Linked DNA regions of Homo sapiens: all the other regions are linked to region 2. The links are contacts of gene promoters, found by promoter capture Hi-C in blood cells and fetal thymus (Javierre and others, 2016). All regions are on one chromosome and are shown on one strand. Each heading gives the region's core, a stretch centred on a gene start or on the middle of the fragment in contact. The rest is flanking DNA. Distances are from core to core; before and after follow the strand shown.

Region 1 (3,509 bases), core at 866-3,365, 400 kb after region 2:
GACAGTGGCTGCTCAAGGCAAAACACATTAATCATTTATAGAGAGACTCAAATTCCGTCTTCTCGTCTCATAAAATGGCAGCAGAACCTACCCAATTACTTAGGCTGAAAAATCTAGGAGTCATGATCCTTTTTCATTTTTTCTCCCTCATACACCATATCCAAACCACAAGCATGTCCTGTCTTCTGTATCTCTGAAATCACTCTGAGTCCAAGCCCTTCTCTTTGCCTTTGCAGATCTCACCATGATACAAGCACTATCCGTTCTTATCAGTCTACTAGAACTACCTTCTCAATGGTTACTCTGATTCTTTCTCTTGCTCCCTTAGGATACATCTTCCTCATCTTCTGCTAGTTATCTTTTTGAAATGTAAATTGGATCAAGTCACTCCTCTGCTTAAGAACCTAATGCCTTTCAAATAATATCTATAGTTCTCACCGTGGTTTACAGTGCTCTGCAAAAATCTCACTTCTGCCCTACTTGCTGAATTCATCTTCTGCCCCCATTTTTGCCATATTCTAGACATACAGGGGTTTTTCCCAAGATTTTCCCCATTTCATAGGCTTTGCACTTTCTATTGCCTCTGCCCAGATCTTCCCATCTAGAAATTTATTCAAAGATTGCTTCTTTGCCCAAGATTTTATTGATACACTTGTCCAGAATAATTTTATATTACATTATCCTCTTTTATTATCTCTATAACCCTTACCACTAACTGAAATCAACTTACTTATTTATTTGCATTTATTTTCTGTCTCTTCTCTATTTTTCTGTCTAGAAAGTAGACTTCAACAGGCCAAGTTTTTAGTTCCAAAGCAGCCTGGATCAGCGCTTGAGACATGATAGGCACCCGAAACACATTTGTTGAATGGATGTATGAATAAATGAATGAATGAATCAACTAATCAACTGGAACTCTGTTTTTGATTCTCTGACAGAAAAAAAAACCCTATCATCTTTAATTTCAAAGGTCTAACATGGTGATTAGAGTAGCAATGTGATATTTCTGGGACAAGTCCTTTAGGGGTAAAATTCTAGTGACAGATGAAATCATTCAGATAATTTGAAGGAAAGAATGAAGTTTCAGTCAGACTCCCATAACAGGATAGAACCTTTCATGGACTAACAGGAACATGCTTATGTACCTCCAGGATCAGAGCCTGGGATGGAAAAAATGATATAAATGAGTCCTTTCCTCCTCCTGATGCTTGCCCTAATCTGACTCTACAGAAGAGGAGACATGGGTGGATTCTCTAGGAAACAGATTCTGAGATAGAGTTGGGCATCACTATGGTCTAAATGTTTGTGTCCACCAAAAATTCAAATGTTGAAGCCTAATTACCCATGTGATTATGTTTAGGAAATGGGGACTTTGGGAGGTGATTAGGCCATCAGGGTGGAGCACTCATGAATGGGATTAGAAAGTCTTACAAAAGAGGCCCAGATTGCTGCCTGGCCTCTCCCACCAGGGAGGGACACAACCTGAAGGCACCATCTTTGAACCAGAGAGCAGCCCTCACCAGAAACCAAATCTGCCAGTGCCTTGATTTTGGACTTCCCGGCTCCCAGAACTATGAGAATTAAGTTCTTGTTGTTTATACGCCACCTAGTTTAAGGTATGTTTTTATAGCAGCCAGAAAAGACTAGGGTAAATATGTGGGAGGTTTATTAAGGAGTGCTATTGGGATCAACACCTGCAGAAGGGAAGAGAAGAAAGAATTGTGTGGGGGGAGAAGTTGAGCTGTGATTCAGTTTCGTTGGAGACCGCAGCCAACCCTAAAGGGAGTTTTGAAGCTGGACTGACCCTTCAGGGTTGTCCTGAAGGATAAGGAAGCCAAGATTTTATATTTCTACTTGGAGCAGTCATTAAATGTGAGCTGCTCTGGAAAGGGGCACAACTTTGGGCCAAACAGCCCTCTCGAGCAGAGGTAATCCCCATAAGGGATGCTGGGTATCCCAGCCAGTAGCATTCCCAGCAGCTGGGAGGGTCAGTCAGTCATCTCTATGGTGGAATCTAGGTGATGCACCACTATGTCCATCAGAGACCCAAATCCCAGAAAGGACTGAACTTAATCCTCTCTCACCAGGCACAGAAGGAATGAAGAATTTCTGCTCCCTGCTTTGAACCAACATTACAGAGACACATAGCAGTCTGGGGACATCCTAAAATATGACATTTAGCAGCTACTTTTATTTTTTTTTAAACTTTTGTTTTTCTTTAAGAATATAGATGGAATTCTTCTTACCTTTCATTTTCAGAAGTATCATCCCCCGCAACTTTATTGAGATTGACAAATAAAAATTGTACATACTTAAGAAGTACAACGTTTCGATGTATGCATCACAGTTAAGCTAATTAACGTCCGTCACCTCACATAGTTAGTGTGTGTGCATGTTGGTGTGTGTGTTAAGAACACACACCTAAGATCTATTCTTTCAGCAAATTTCAAATATACAAAATATTATTTCTAAACTGTAGTTACTATACTATATATTAGGTCTCCAGTACTTATTCATCTTAAAACTGAAAGGGCTGGAGGCCGAGGCCAGCAGATCACAAGGTCAGGAGTTCGAGACCAGACTGGCCAACACAGTGAAACCCTGTCTCTACTAAAAATACAAAAATTAGCGGGGCGTGGTGGCAGGCGCCTGTAATTCCAGCTACTAAGGAGGCTGAGGCAGGAGAATCAATTGAACCTGGGAGGCGGAGGTTGTAGTCAGTCAAGATCACATCACTGCACTCCAGCCTGGGTGACAGAACTAGACTCCATCTCAAAAAAGCAACAACAACAACAAAAAGAAAACTGAAAGGGCTGGATGATAGGGAAAATGGGGAGATTTGGGTCAAAGGGTACAAACTTCCAGCAGCTGCTTTTAAAAAGAGAGGTTTTGTTCTTACTTTGTTTTTGGTTGCTGTTGATTTTGTTTATTTTAGCTTGTTTGTTTTCCCTTTAGGACATAGAAAGCATTTTCTCTTTGCTGTTTCAGACTGTAGCTAAGCTCTTTTCAATCTAAATCCATGTCTTTAAAATTGAGTCTTCTCATTAAAATGACTCTCTTCCATCCATACTAAGCTAGGTTACTTCAGGTTCTCTAGGACACAAAAGAGTGTATCTAAAAGGAATACTTTCTCTAAACTCAGGAATGACCAAACTAGTTACAGGAGTCGACCTGAGAAAATCTATGATGAATATACTTCTAAAGTTCTGATAAAAGGAAGTAATTAAATCAACCTGCCTTACTCATATTATTTGCTCTGCTCTTTTTCTTAAATTCACTCTTATGTCTCTGACAATTTCTATTTCTTTGGACCTCAAACTGTAATGTGTTTTAGAATAAGCTGGTATGCTTTGGAAAACAGATTGTTGGACCCCATTCCCCATAGAGTCAGAAGATTCAAGTGGGACCCAGGAATCTGCATTTTAGAAAACACCCCAAGGCCGGGCGCGGTGGCTCATGCCTGTAATCCCAGCACTTTGGGAGGCCGAGGCAGGTGGATCACGAGGTCA
Region 2 (3,339 bases), core at 429-2,928:
AAAATGCAGTATTAGTATCAAGAATATGAAAACATAAATTCTAGTAAAATTTATAAAGTAGAAATATAAATTCTAGTAACACTTGGGATGCCATGTTCAATAAATATTACTGAAGGAGGAGCTAACATCTGCTGCACTGCTTCAGTGGTCCAGGCACTCATACACTATATATAAACTCACTTAATCCTCACAGTTATCTTTTCCCCCCAGATGAAAGTGAACTTTAGAGGGATTAAATGCCTTGCCCCAAACCAAGTAACCACTTAGCGACAGAGCCAGGGTTTGAACACAGTCATGTCTCAGTCCACATTCCATGTGCTTTCCACTGAGCTCCATGTTACAGGTTGGGCTCCCCAGGAATCAGTCTCTGAGATGACAGTAGCATGCAGGAAGTTAGCAAAAAAGTGCTCAAGGGGAACACACGTGGGGAAGGGGAAAACTCAGGATTAGGCAAAGGAGAAGGTGGGCAGGTAGAACTAGAGCCAAGCAAATGCCAGCCAGCCTTTTTGGAGGGTTTGGGTGGATAACGGACAATGTCAAAAACAGCATTAATTTTCAATCCTGGGTGGTGGAAAGACTATATATATGTATGTATATATGTATGTATGTATGTATGTGTATGTGTGTATGTATGTGTGTATGTATGTGTGTGTATGTATGTATGTATGTATGTATATGTATGTGTGTATGTGTGTGTGTGTATGTATGTATGTATGTGTGTATGTATGTATGTGTAATTTCTCTATGTCAGACACTGCTGGGTTTGTGCTCCCCTCTATAATCTACTGATTGTGGGACTTCACACGAGGTACAAAACATAAGTGACCTAATAAGCCCTCTAGACAGGGCTTCAGGGAGGAGCCAAGGCTGGCACATAGTCAGAGGGCAGGAAAAGTTCCACTCCCTCCGTGTGATTAGGAGGGCTGCTTTGTTTTCTTCCCAGGCAGAGACCTCAAAGAAAAGTGTGACTTGTGGCAATCATTGGAATGCTCTAACGGGAGGGAGCCCTAAGCTAAGGGGAGGGGCTGTATCAGCCCCGGGAGGGCGAGGGACAAAGGGGCATTGTTTCCCTGGAGGGCAGGCTGGGGCAAGGCTGACTCCACTGCCGGCCTGGGCGTGGGCAGGTTTGCTCCCGGGAGGAGAAGGCCTCCATCCTGGCCCACAATAGCCAACCCAAAACAGTTCTGGCAAAATTAAAAGACGCAGGAAAATGCCAGCGACCGTTTATTTTCTCCTAGGGTAGATGGGGGAGAAAGCAGCTCCTTTTTCTGGGCTGAATGGAGTCTCAGGGAGGGGGCTAGGTGACAGCATCGCCCTTTCCTCTCCGGCTATTGCGCACCTTCTGGAGCCTCGCTCAGCCTGCTCCCTCCGGCGTAATACGCCAATGCTGCTACCCACAACGCACAGACCAGAAACCAGGATAGACAGAAGCCTAGAATGGCCTGGCATCGAGCAGGCCCAGCGCAAACGCAAGGTCTCTTCCTCTCCTTTCGGTGAACCCCACGCCCAGTCCCGAGAGAGAGAGCGGATGCTCATTTCCGAAAGCTGGCAATCCTGCAGTGGCCACTGGAAAAATACATATACGTGTGTGTGTGTGTGTGTGTGTGTGTGTGTGTGTGTGTGCGCGCGCGCGCACACAGTGCATATCGTGCCCATCTACAAGGAAACCTGGAGGCTCCACAAACAACTTTGAGTCCCGGGAGGGCGGAGGTGGAGAGAGATTCTCCGCTTGGATAAGGGCGGCTGGATAGCCGAGTACTCTCTTTTGGGGCTGTTGGCCGTCTCCGGAGTCTCGGGAGCGCCTTGATGTCCCTTCCCAGGGCTCGGGTTCCTTTGAGAGAATCAAGAGGAAGGTGTTTTTCACTAGGACTCGCGGTGGGCCCCACCTGCCTACCGTGGCCGGCCGGGAGCTATTACAGCAGGGTCTGCCCGTCCGACGACGGCGGCTCCAATCTGGGGTCCCGCCGGCGCCGACCCCTCAGCTCTCTCCCGATACCTGCTGGCCTCTCTCATCTTTGGTGGCACTCGCCGCCACGGGGACGGTGAGATCAAAGAGGTAGACCTAGGCCAGGAGGGACTGCCAGGGCTCCTTCCCGCGGGCCAGCCTCTCGTCCTTCCTCCCGGGACGGGGCTCTTTCCCTTTCTCCGGATGCGGGCCTTTGAGAGTCAGCGACGCCTTAGACTCCTCCCAGAAAAATGCACCCTCATCTACCCAATTCTGCCCTACCCTTTGGAGCTCCTGGACCCTCTAACCGCTCGGTGGGGTCAGAGCCCACCCCCGGAAGGGCCGCTGGTCGGGGACTGGTTCGCCCTCTCCTGGCCTCCTCGGACCAGTGCGCGGGGAGGATCCCGCTAACGCCGGGCGCCTGCAGACCTTGAGCGGCCTCGCCCTGGTGACCTCCCCGGGAAAGGCTGGGCGGTGCTTCCACAATGAGGGCCACCTGTTAATTTGCACGAGAAAGTGCTGCCGAGGGCCCACACGTGCGAATCCACCTGTGGAGTGCGTCCCCTCTCTGGGGCCAAGGCCTAGGGGAGGCCGAAGCGGAGAAGTTGCCTGAAGACTGGGAAGTAAGAGTAGGGGCGTCGGAGGAATCGAAGTTGCAGTGACATCAGGCTCGGACAGCCGGCGGACTCCTCGCAAGGTGATCGGATACTTCCGAGAGCCCCACAGTCCTCCTGGGCCTTTGCCCTCGCGTCTGGGATGCGCTCGGGCGCCCCCAGTCTGCGATGCGTTCGTACCTCCAGTAGGGTGACGTTTTCGCCGGGCCCCTCTGCGAACAGTCTCCGCCCTCCTCCACTGTGAGATATTTCACAGTTTCACCCGCAGAGGGCAACCTTATTCCAAGTTCCCGAGCGCCCTAGGCCTCTTTCTCCTCCCTGCCTAACTGGTGAGGTGGGACTTCAATGCCTTTTAGGTTTACAGTCTTTTCCTCCCCACGGCTTCTCTTTCCTCCCCGTCTCAGGCACTGGGCATTTCCAGTCGATCCAGCAGGTCTGGCTTCTCTCACATATGCAGTAAGGGTTAGGGGAGAAGGTCCCAGCTCCTCTTGTCTCTAGCAGAGTGTAAACTGGCTCTGCTGAGGAGGTGGCTGTGCTTTTATTCCTTCTCCTGAGAACTGTTTATATATTAAGGAGCTTCACAGCCTCCAACATAAGGAAAGCAGGTAGGAACTGATCATATAACGCTTTGTAAATGTTTTAGACTTTGGCTTTAATGGGAAAGAAATGGGGAGCCATTCGTGGGTTTTTGAGCAGCAGGTGGACATTGCTTTTCATAATGACCACGCCAGCTGCTGTTTGGAGAATAGACTGTAGGGGTCACTGCGCAAATTGGAGGCC
Region 3 (3,093 bases), core at 585-3,084, 450 kb after region 2:
GGACGTCCTTGCCTGGAGATTTCACCTGGGAGAACTTCTGACAATAGTGCCTTTCCTATGGTGACACATATTGTACTTTCTAACCTATCCTAGGCGATGGGTTGGAATTGGGGGTGAGGGGGCTTCACCAGCTTGAGTCTTGACATGCTATTTTGAGCATTAAATGAAATAATCCTTGTAAAGTGCTTAGCTGTGTGCTTGGCACTCAGGCCATACTCAATAAATGTTAATTAGTGCAGATTTTCTTCCAGATGCCTAGCACAGGACAGGGTTTATAGATTGTGCTGTAAAATTATTCCTGAATAAATATATGGTATTTAAACTTAAACGTCAATGCACAAGAGAGGGTGTCTCTGGCTCTCTTGCTACAGCAACTAGTAGGACCCCCAACAGCACCCCCACCAATTCACTAGATGCTTAATAGATATTTTTTAGTTTCCTCTGAAGAGGAATAAGAAGAGAATATTAGTCGATTGTAGCCACTTGGCTGCAAATTTTCCACAGGAGCTGAGGTTAGAGGTTTAGTGGCAGTAACACTAAATGTTTCAAGCTTTCTTAGAAAACCACAATTACATTGATTACCCACTGTCAGTGGAACATTCACTGGAAGTCACACCCCTGCGAGGGACTGAGTGGTGATGAGCTTTCTTTAATCTGTCCAAAAAGTTTCCCTAGGTTTCTCTCATCAGAAACTGGCAATTGAGAAAGTGCAGCCCAGGGTTAGGGGGCTGTCTGTGGCTACAGAATGCAGTGAAGCTAAGAGGCCCATAAGGGGATTAAATCTATGACCTGCTCCTCATTAGCACAATGTTCTAGCTGAATGGGAAATAATGCAGACTCCTTGAGTGTTAGCAAATACTGACCTACTTAGATATGAGGATAAAAGCACACATTTTCCCTTGGACATCAGCACAATCTGTCTCTGGGAACTGAAAGGACAGAGAAAGCCCTTTTACAGGGAATTTCTGGGTCAATAACTCTCATCTCATGCTCCTACAGTAATTACTGGATTATGTTCCCCAATTATTCTCCTATCCAATAACTGCCTCTCTGCCTACCCACCCATGTTCCAACAAGTATTAGACAATGTGTCAGGCCATCTGAGTCTCCTATGACATCAGTCATCTTCATACAACTAGATCCCCCTGCCTAGAACATTTCCATCTCCCACCCACCCCACCATCCCCACCACCTTCACCAACACAACCTCTGCTCCTGGCCTCCACTCATCTGGCCAGCATGTGCTCATTTCTCCTGTCCCAGCAAGCTGTCCTGGAAGTCTTCAGGAATTCTGATGCCTGGATACAGATCCATCCATGTACACCTCTGCACACAGTACTCTCCCATCACAGTACTTACTGCATTGTACTTCCACGGTCTATGTTCTCTCTCCCCAATCCCCAGCACTGTAAGTGCCTAACGCAAGGACTATGTCTGGTGAAGAGGTGAATCCTATCTACTCTGTGCCTGGCCTAAAGTAGGAATTCAATAAATACTTGTTGAATGAATGGATGATGAAAGGAAATCCCAATTTTCCTTTTATATATTAAACTTCCTAAGTGATGCTAAATACGATCTGAAAATATTAAATAGTACTTACATTCAACCATCCTTAAGGGCACCCTTAAGTCTTGACATTTGCTGAAGTAGGATGAAAAAGTGTTTTAGAATCACACAGGTATGAATTTAAATTCCTAGGTGATCATTAACTACCTGTGTTTCAACTTTTCTAAATGAGAATAATAATACCTCCCTCGCAGAGTTACTTAGAAAGTAGAATAAGATAAAATACGTGAAGTTCCTGCTACTCAAAAACATTAGTATGTTATCTCTTTCTATTCTCTAATTAATGAGCTTTCTCCTGAATTTCTGTCTGCCCTATTCATTGTACACTAAATACTATATTTTAATACACACACACACACACACACACACTCTTTCAAGTTAATATATATTTACATATATACACATATGCTCTTTCCATTAACTTGTAAAATATATGTATGTGTGTATATGTGAATGTGTGTGGTGTTGTGTAGACATATATATAGATATATTTGCTTTTGTATACTTTTTTCAATTAACTTGGAAGAGTGTATGTATATGTGTGTGTGGTGTGTGCTTGTGTGTGTGTGTGTGTGTGTGTGTGTGTGTGTGGTATGTTCCTCTAGCATATCTGTTTATATATTAAACTTTATAATAGACTTTCCAGGCTTATTGTGAGAGCATTCGGGAGATAATGTAGAAAAGCACATGAGCTCCCTGTACATAGTAGGCAATAAATTCATATGTTTTCCTTCCTTCTTTCCTTTCTTTTTTTCTTCCTTCCTTGTTTTTTTATTCCTCTTAGCAGACATAGTCTCTAAATATTGATTGATTTATTAAGAGATTATATCCTTTATTCAAATTATATCCCAGTTTACCTGGCACAGAGAGGGCACCTGTCTTGGTCCATTTGGGCTGCTTTAACAAAATACCATCAACTATGTGGCTTAGAAACAACAGGAATTTATTTCTCACAGTTCTGGATGCTAGAAGTCTGAAATCAGGGTGCCAATGAGGTTGAGTTCTGATGAGGGTTGTCTTCCAGATTTGACTGCCTATTTCTTGCTGTGTCCTCACATGGTGGAGATAGTGAAGGGTCTCATTCTGGCTCTTTCATAAAGACACTCACGCCGTTCATGAGGGCTTTGCCTCCATGACCTAACAACCTCCCAAAGCTCCCACCTCCTAATACTACTATCATGAGGGTTAGGATTTCAACGTATAAATTTTGGTGGGACACAAACATTCAGACCATATCAACAGTCAGCACATAACTTATCAAATGTTTGTAGAGTAAAAACAAATAATAAAGTATTATTTTCAGCGTATCATTATTATGGATATCCACTACATTTTTAAGGATCAAAACAGCTTCTGAACAATGTGAATTCTCCTACAGTCTTTAGTCAACAATAACCACAAATATTTCCCTTCTTTAAGGAGATTTGAGGATGAGGTCCTCACATTACCTTCTCAATGAATATTGAGTGGAGCAAAGGAGGTCTTCTTTACAAGATAAACCTTATTTTGGAAATAATATTCTTACAA
Region 4 (3,046 bases), core at 486-2,985, 380 kb after region 2:
TTGAAGGAAATTTGAAAACTATAGATAAAGAAAAGAACTGGGTGTGCTAGCTCATGCCTGTAATCCCAGCACTTTGGGAGGTCAAGGCGGGCAGATCACCTGAGGTCAGGAGTTCCAGACCAGTCTGGCCAACATGGTGAAACCCTGTCTCTACTAAAAATACAAAAATTAGCCAGGCGTGGTGGTGCATGCCTGTAATCCCAGCTACTGGGAAGGCTGAGGCAGGAGAATCACTTGAACCTGGGAGGCAGAGGTTGCAGTGAGCCAAGAATGCGCCATTGCACTCCAGCGTGAGCGACAGAGTGAGGCTCCATCTCAAACAAACAAACAAACAAAAACAAAACAAAAAACCGAAAAGAAAACAGTGGTGGTAACATAAGTGAGATGCGTAAAGATATAATGCGAGATGCGGTAGAAATTGAGTAATCCCAGTGGTTTCAGTCAAATTGAGAGAAATTACTGCCTACAGTTTACAAGTTTAGACTGTACTGGGGTGGAATTCTAACTCTGTTGTTATTAGTTAGGTCCTTCAGACAAGTTAACAATGCTAAAAATATAATTAACAATAATATTCCCTAGCCTTTATTAGTATATGTGCTAGGCACTGTTCTAAATGTTTACATGGATTATTTCTGAGTTTCAGTTTCTTCGTGTATCAAATGGCATTAGTAATTATTGTACCTTCCTCATAAGATTACTGTCATAAGTAAATAAATTAGCATGATACTGGCCATGTAAACAGCACTAAAAACATAGCAGTCGTTATTGTTATTATTAGCTCTGAAAATACTAAGGATAAAACCAAGTGAGTGGATATATATACTTCTCTATATTCCTCCTGTTAAATACAAGCAAAAACTCCGGACATTATGTATAAAATAAACATGCGAAGGCTCAAAGGTGGGGCAAAGATAGCAGACTGGCTAGGGACCTGAAACTGGAGATCTAACATGGCGAGTTTCTTGGGTTTTCTTTTTGTCTCATATATCCTGGACATGAAACCAAGAAGCTAGCAGCCTGGAAATGCCAATGTGAGCAACAACAAAAGCCCCAAGAAAAGCATGCCGTTTCTAGCTAAAGGAACAGCCTAGCTAGACAGAAAACTTTTAGACAAAATCCATCCTCTCCTAGTCAAACACCGTAGAGAAAGCACACAGCCTCACCCTCATCAGCAAAGGCAGAGTTGGGAAGCCAGGATTTCCACCCTTGCTTGTCTGTAATATGGCACTCTTAAACCGCCTCCCACCCTGTAGTATCAGAGAAGACAGAGTAGGGAGCTGAGACTTTCATTTCCATCCCATGATAATGAGACACCTTCCCCCAAATCCCCAACACAGTTTTAGTGGAGGCCACATGGAGACCACATCTGGCACTAACAAGGCATTTCTACCTCTCCCATCTAGGATAGTGTAAGAGGAAGAATAGTGTAAGAGGAAGATAGTGTAAGAGGAAGAATTTCACTCCCATGTGACAATGATGAGGAAGCGCCCCCCATGCTCACCCCACCACTTTCCCTCCCAGAGCAATGTCAGAAGAGGCCTGCTGAAGAAAAAGATTTAATTAAGATACAGAAGTTCGTGACAAAATACTAAAAATGTCCAGATTTCAATTTAAAAATCACACATTATACAAAACACCAAGAAAATCTTAATTTGAATGAGAAAAATAAGCCAACATACACCAACACTGAGATGACACAGTTGTTGGACTTATCTGAAAGGCAATCTAAAGCAGCCATCGGAAAAATGCTTCAGTGAGCAATTATGAACATGCTTGCAACAATTGGAAAAAATTGAAAGTCTCAGTAAAGAAATAGAAGGTATAAAGTAGAGCCAAATTGAAATGTTAGAACTAAAAAATGTTATAAGTAAGATAAAAACTCAATGGATAGGTTCAACAGAATAATGGAGAGGACAAAGGAAAGAATGAGCTTGAAGGTAGGACAGTAGAAATTACCCAATCTGAACAACAGAGAGAAAATAAGGAGGGAAAAATAAACAGACCCTTGGAGACCTGTGGGTCTATAACAGAAGATCTAACATTTGTCACTGGACACAGGAAAAGGAGGAAGATGGTAGGGATAAAAAAATATTCAAAGAAATAATGGCTGAATATTTCCAAAATTTGGGGAAAGACTTGAACTTACAGACTCAAGAAGGTGAGCAAATTCCAAACAGGATGAATTCAAAGAAATCTATCAAGACACATCACACTCAAACTTCTGAAAACCAAAGTCAAGGGGAGAGTATTGAAAGCACTGACAGAGAAAAGACATGTTATCTACAGGAGAAAAGTAATTCCAATGACAATGGATTTCTCATCAGAAACTATGGGAGACAGAAGGAATTAGAACATTTTTCAAGTGCTGAGATAAAAGAATTATCAGCACAGAATTTTATATCTAGTGAAAATATGCTTCTAAATGAAAAGAAAATGAAACTTTCCCAAAGAAATGAAAACTAAAAGGATTTGTCACTACAGACCTATTTCAAAAGAATGGCTAAAGAAAGTTCTTGAAACAGAAAGGAAAGGACTTTTTAAAAGAACCTTCAAACATCTGGAAGGAAGAAGAAAAAACAAAAAGATCTAAAAATCTTAATACATTCAACAGTCTTCCCTCTCTCGAGTTTTCTAAATTGTGCTTGATGATTAAAGCAAAAATTATAACAATTTTTGATGTGGTTCTCAGTATAGGTAGAAAAATATTTAAGGCAATTACATTGTAAACAGGGGAGGGTAAAAGGTAGTTAAAAGCAGATAAGAGTTCTATGCTTTATTCAAACTGGTAAAGTGTTGACATCAGTTGACTTTGATAAGTTACATGTGTATGATATCACGCTTACAGCAACCACCAAAAATCTGTATCAAAAGATACATAAAAAATGCTACAGATAAATCAAAATGAAATTCTAAAACCTGTTGAAGTAATCCATAGGAAGGCAGGAGAAAGAATAGAGAAGTAAAAAACTGAAAGAACAAAAGAGATAAAAAGAAATAAAATAGCTATCTTAAGTCCTAACATAGCAATAAGTACATTAAATGTAAA

Evidence for each region. Contacts are between HindIII fragments. The CHiCAGO score rates a contact against its expected background, and 5 or more counts as called.
Region 1: a fragment that was not itself captured here is called in contact with the fragment with the promoter of LNCRNA-IUR in region 2 in 1 of 17 cell types (total CD4 T cells); the score reaches 5.0 in total CD4 T cells.
Region 3: a contact is called between a fragment that was not itself captured here and the fragment with the promoter of LNCRNA-IUR in region 2, in 5 of 17 cell types (activated CD4 T cells, M2 macrophages, total CD4 T cells and 2 more). The highest score is 8.7, in activated CD4 T cells.
Region 4: a contact is called between a fragment that was not itself captured here and the fragment with the promoter of LNCRNA-IUR in region 2, in 1 of 17 cell types (neutrophils). The highest score is 5.2, in neutrophils.

The regions. Positions count from the first base shown.
Region 1 is chr11:95,549,635-95,553,143 of GRCh38, forward strand. No RefSeq gene overlaps it. Among named protein-coding and RNA genes, the nearest start is that of FAM76B, 240 kb to the right of the region's middle. The HindIII fragment of the contact is 6,834 bases long and covers 1-3,509 here.
Region 2 is chr11:95,148,861-95,152,199 of GRCh38, forward strand. LNCRNA-IUR (lncRNA imatinib upregulated) reads left to right here and starts at 1,679. Exons shown (of 3, transcript NR_110303.1): 1 at 1,679-2,888. RefSeq lists enhancers at 1,465-2,006, 2,007-2,548, 2,149-2,278 and a silencer at 2,799-2,908. The HindIII fragment of the contact is 7,632 bases long and covers 1-3,339 here.
Region 3 is chr11:95,599,541-95,602,633 of GRCh38, forward strand. No RefSeq gene overlaps it. Among named protein-coding and RNA genes, the nearest start is that of FAM76B, 190 kb to the right of the region's middle. The HindIII fragment of the contact is 2,572 bases long and covers 549-3,093 here.
Region 4 is chr11:95,531,942-95,534,987 of GRCh38, forward strand. No RefSeq gene overlaps it. Among named protein-coding and RNA genes, the nearest start is that of FAM76B, 260 kb to the right of the region's middle. The HindIII fragment of the contact is 8,164 bases long and covers 1-3,046 here.